2 separate regions of the Homo sapiens genome follow, and region 2 is linked to region 1. Evidence: promoter capture Hi-C in 16 types of primary human blood cells and fetal thymus (Javierre and others, 2016). All regions are on one chromosome and are shown on one strand. The core of a region is centred on a gene start or on the middle of the fragment in contact, and the rest is flanking DNA. Distances in the headings are between cores, read along the strand shown.

What was found. Contacts are between HindIII fragments. The CHiCAGO score rates a contact against its expected background, and 5 or more counts as called.
Region 2: a fragment that was not itself captured here is called in contact with the fragment with the promoter of CFAP44-AS1 in region 1 in 1 of 17 cell types (erythroblasts); the score reaches 5.2 in erythroblasts.

What each region holds. Positions count from the first base shown.
Region 1 is chr3:113,402,673-113,405,372 of GRCh38, forward strand. It overlaps CFAP44-AS1 (CFAP44 antisense RNA 1), which reads left to right and starts at 1,326. Exons shown (of 6, transcript NR_046728.1): 1 at 1,326-1,384. CFAP44 (cilia and flagella associated protein 44) reads right to left here. Exons shown (of 35, transcript NM_001164496.2): 9 at 1,180-1,344. It overlaps SPICE1-CFAP44 (SPICE1-CFAP44 readthrough (NMD candidate)), which reads right to left. Exons shown (of 52, transcript NR_183050.1): 27 at 1,180-1,334. The HindIII fragment of the contact is 6,429 bases long and covers 85-2,700 here.
Region 2 is chr3:113,051,792-113,054,614 of GRCh38, forward strand. All of the region lies in intron 1 of NEPRO-AS1 (NEPRO antisense RNA 1), which reads left to right. The region is part of intron 2 of LOLI1 (lncRNA oncogene in liver cancer 1); the gene reads right to left. Among named protein-coding and RNA genes, the nearest start is that of RMP64, 34 kb to the left of the region's middle. The HindIII fragment of the contact is 1,464 bases long and covers 535-1,998 here.

The DNA of each region.
Region 1 (2,700 bases), core at 76-2,575:
CTAGGTTTTTTCTATGGGGTAAGAGGTAAAGATTTACTGTGTGAAGGACTGAAAAGACAAGGACAGACTCTGAAAAGAGAAGCAAGCTTAGGAAATACTGGTGTCCATGAAGGGATCCTCTGTGAAATATTTAACTTCTTTTCTCCTGAGGTTTTCTCCCACTTGGTATTTAGACATTTTGGGGTAACGTATATCTTGGAAAGATAGCAAATATATCATATGACAAAATAAAGGACACAAAAGATTCTCAGAGAAATGTGTGAAATCTAACAAGATTAAATTTAATATTGTAAATGTAAAAAACATACACTGGGGCTCAAAAAGCCAGTGGTAAGAGGACCCACTGTGGGAGATATGGGTTAAACAATATTAAACACAGTAAGCTCAATCGGTGGCAACAGAGTGACCAGACTCTTAAAAAAGAAAAAAAAAAGAATCTTACTTTTGATAACATTTCTTAAAGAATGTCAATAGAACACTGCCACTTTCTTATGAAAGGCCCCACTGAAAATATCTACCAAGAGGACTACAAGGCAAATCACAAGGCTACAGGTTGACCAGCCACAGCACAATACTCATTAACAGAAAGTGCTACACAGAGTGGGTGGAAGAAGTGTGACAATAGCAATCAAGGGGACTTAGATGCTGGAGCAATGTTCCAGCTTAGCCCAGGCTTTGGGCAAGAGAGTGTCCCCAAGAGAAAGCAAGTGAGGTCCCTAGCATAAGGAGCAAGAAGAATGTAGCATCCATAGGCAAACTCCATCAGTTCACCTCTGGGTGTATTTCTAAGTGGTAACCTCAGTAAAAAATAACTAACAAATGTTCAGCACCTTTGTTCCTACAAAATGGCCCATTCATATGGAGCCTTTTGGAAGGATATGTGGGTCTACTGTTCATCTTGTGCTAACATGAGTTTTCATCTTCTGAAGCTATTATTTCAACAGAATCAGAATAACAAGAGGCCCTCTCAAAAAGTTTCAGTGGTAAAATGCAGTAAATTAATTTTGACAAGAATGCAAATATTTACCACAAGAGAAGCATTATTTAAAGTGAGTTGGCCTTGGGAGTAAATGACTACTGATCTCCTTCACAAAATAACCTTTATGAGAAATAAAACCCTTTGGGTGAGCTACAAGTCTTAAACGTGGGTGCTACCATCCAAGTATCGAGAAAACTTACCCTAACATATCCATCTGACCCAACAGTGATAACTTCACCCTCATACAGCATTATCTGGTTAATGGGACCATTGTGACATGACTTGCTTGTCCCTCGACAGAGCTCCACTTTGATCAGACCACCTTCCCAAAGCAGCATGTTGCCCCATTCTGACCCTGAGAGCACCTGGCAGGTATGTGGAAAAAAGAAATGTGCATTAAAACAGGTAAGTGTACATATTTATGCCTCAAATAGTAGGTGAAAATTATTTTTTAAGGTTATCTTTATTGATTATAAAATTTTTAAATGGAAAAATAAAAAAATACAGAAATGAAGACCTACTACCCCAGACACAACTACCAATAACATTTTGATGTATTTCCTTCCAGCAATATGATCAGTTTTACATCTTTTTGATTAGGCTGTATGTTGTTGGTAATTGTTCATGTATGTATACAATAGACTTCTTGGTACATCTCTTAGGACAAAAGACAGGAGTGGAATTAGATGAGAGTCTACTTTTTAAATGTAATACTATCAAATTTTAGATGTTAGATAACTTGTAAGGCCAGTACTGAATTAAGTAGATTATAGCATAATAGTATCCAATTTCAAACAAGGATAATCATCTAAAACTTTTCTCAAATTAGCCTGTTTAATCTGGCATTTTCCCAAGTGCATGCCACCAAACATTAGTTGTTAAGATATTTAACAAGTGTCACAAATAAAGTAATATTTATTGAGTACTGACTCTGTACCAAGCACTGGTTCAGTACTTTATATATGTTAAGTTATTTAATGCAAAAAACCATATGAACTAGGTACATTTATCAGGGATACCATGTACACTTGTGCATGTTGGTTACCTCATTCTCCTAGAACAAACAGCTTTTTCTGACCCCCGCAAAGGAACCATATGGGCCAATGATAGCCCTGACTATTATTATCCCCATTTTACAGAGGAGAACATTGAAGCACAAAACAGTTAAGTAACTTGCCCAAAACTACCCAGTCAGCATTCTAATCCAAGCAAGGTGGCTCAAAACCTCCTATTCTGACTGCACAGCCTCAGAAGGCTGTTGCTAGGATAAACAAAGTCAAACAACTTTATTTTCTCTAGGACCCCTGGGAACTTTTAATAGAGAAGTATTTGCTGGGAATCACCAAGAGGAATTTTTAGATACAAAGGAATTTGACTTAAAAAGTCTTATTTTTATGGAGCTTCTGTACAGACTGATGTTCCATAAAAATGCACTTTGGGAAACTCTATTCTAATTTTTACCTGCATGCTCTAGAGGTCTACATTTCCATTTCCCCCTTATCTAGAGAAACTGATGATTTTATTCAGTCCTTTATCTCTTGGGTCTACCTATTTTTTAACAACCCTACCGACTTTACTGATTCTGTTCTTAAGCCTCAGCCATTTATGGTAGAGTCTTTAGACTTATTTTCTTCTGTCCAGTGATGAAAGCCAGCAGTGATGACAAAAACCTACAAAGCATTCCTTTATGAAATGTGACTCATATCTAGCTTCCCTTTTCC
Region 2 (2,823 bases), core at 17-2,516, 350 kb before region 1:
CTTGGAGAAAATGAAATCATTATTTCTACTCTTTGACAGCCTTGAGACAAAATTTCCAAGTCAAATTTATAAGGCCTCGGATTTGGTTGCTTGTTTTGCTTTCTTCTGTCTTGCCAGTTACCTCCTGAGAGTTGGGCAAAGATCAGTAAGATCCCTTTGCTGTGGCTGCCAGCAAGTCTGTGCCTGATTTGACGAGATTCTGAAAAGGTACCAGTGCCTCCTCCCTCCAAGGCCTCTCGTGGAACATAACACCCTAGAACTATGCCAAGAGACAGAGCCAAGCCACATTTCAGTGTCTGCTGCTGCACCAAGCTCTGAGCAGAGGCCATCTTTTCTGCTCAAGAAGTTGTTACTGAATTCTTTCAAGTGCTTGCTTTGGGGACAAAAATGATCAAGAAAGATAGTCTCTGTACAACCAACATTTCCAGGAAACCCATTATTTGTGCATTATCTGTATACTCACAAACACACATAAGCACATGCACACATGCCAAGACACAAAAAGTTTTCAGTTAAGAGAGTCATGTTCCTAAAAGCTTTATCTTTTACACCAGTATTTATTGCTGTCTATCTTCATAAGGTCTACTGTGGGAGATGCTGGCATAGAAAGAACTTTGCCTCAGGAATATACGAGAAAACATAATCAGGGCAGAAAGCAGAGGTATTCAAATAACAAGGTCCTAAAGTGTGTTGCAGCTGATACATGAACTCACATCTAACTCAGGTCAACTCTGGGATAAAAATGAGCATCGAACAGTCTCCTCCCACAAGTATGTAGGCACCATGAGAACAGCAATGTTTAGTTTCTTGTTCCATCCTAAGTGCCCGGAACATTTCTGATGCTCAATTAATGTTTGCCAAATAACAAAAACACTTAGGGAATGTACCATATCAGAGACAAACATACCGTCTCTCAGTAAGTCCCTCCAGCATTAACACAGATTGTGATTTCTTTAGGTTGACACTAGCTGAAGTAGTTGGCTTGGATTTAGGGGCCATGTTGTATGCATCGTTAACAACAATCATATCTAAAGGAGCAAGAAGCTCACCCAGGAGAAGTGTGTGGGCACAGATACTGGTGGAATGAATGGAAGACTCCCATCTAACGCTCTCTCAGGAGGGTTGCTGGATTTAGCAAATAAAAATACAAGGTATTCAGTTACATTTGAATTTCCGATAAATGAGTTTAGCATGGGACAAACTTATATTCAAAAATATTCATTATGTATCTGAAATTCAAAATGAACTTGGCCTCCTGTATTTTACCTGGCAAACCTACCATGGGGCATACACTTTCTGAGTGGAAAGGTGGGAGGATGGTCTGACTTTTTCAATTGTAACCTCTCTTTCTCTCTGGGCACATAGGTTGTATCCTTTTAACTTTAATGTATGAATGCCATTGTAGTATGATAATCACAGTGGATTCCATTTAATCCCATTAAGTGTGCCATCAGAAATCCCAGTATTTTGAAAATGTTCCCTGAGCTTAACGATTTGAGAACCACTAGTGTACAAACTTTAGTAAGCAGCCTTCTTTAATCTGAAGGAAGGGTGTGCCCTATAATCTTCTTCCTCCCCTTCACATTGGGAAATTATTTCTGGGCGGATACCTTTGTTCAAAAGGTTGAAAATAGGCTTAGATGGCACTGTATTTCCTAAGTAACTTCCTGCCAATTATCAACCTCTTCATTATAAAGTGGGTCTAATACCCCACTCAGGGGGTGACGCAGGGGTTCCTAATGGAAGAGTATGGGAAAAAAGGACTCAATTAAGTGATGATAATATGAACTCAACTTTTCCAACACAAATAAGGCTTAGAAAAAGTGATCCCCAGACTTCTGTTCAAAACATCTTGTATTAGTCCTGGACCACAGCCAGTCTTTCCTGAGAACCCACACCTAGCTGTGACTCTAAACAAGTGATGAGTTCCTAGTCACAGTCTTAAAGAGACCAGGTCCGCCTGAGCAGCCCTGTGCTTTATGGGCCAACTCAGCCAGAAGCTTCAATGAATAACCATGATACCTTGAGTGGAGGCAGGAGGAGTGGCCGGAGGCAGAGGAATCCAGCTACTAACCAGGGAAAGGATTCAAATAGATGCTTTTCCATTAGAAAGTCTCTGTTCAAATGACCTCAAGGCTTAAAATTATAGAATTTTGTAAAGAAAATTCTCTTTTGTCACCTATAAGCATTATCACTTTTTATTGAATTATACTATAAACAAATATTGTTTAATTGAATGAGACTAATTAAATCAATGAAAATACAATGTTTACCTTTTCTGGAAACCTTCAGTATATTATATGGCATTTAAGGCATTTTACAAATTAACACCAATCTATCTTTCCAATCTTATTTCCTTCTGCTTCTTTCTGGGACTACTACATTCTAGCCAGAGGTTTCTGCACCTTGGCACTGTTGACATTTTGAAGGGGAGAATTCTTTGTTGTAGGAACTATCCTGTGCATTGTAGGATATTTAGTGGCATCTCTGGCCTCTATCCACTGGATACCAGTAGAACATACCCTCCCCGTGCAAGAGTGTGACAATTTAAAAATGTCTGTAGGCATTGTCAAATGTACCCTGGGGGGCAAAATCACCCCCATGAAGAACCATTGGGGGGCAAAATCACCAGCACTGAGGACTACTGCTCTGTCCCACAAGACAACTTTCCCTGCTATGAACACATTTTCTCAAGCTCTACCCACACTCCCCCACCACACCACACACACCTTTCACTCCTGTTCCCTTGACCTAAAACACCCTGCTTTCCCCCTTTCCATTGACAAACTTGTATTTATTCTCCAAGGCCTAAATCAAATGCTA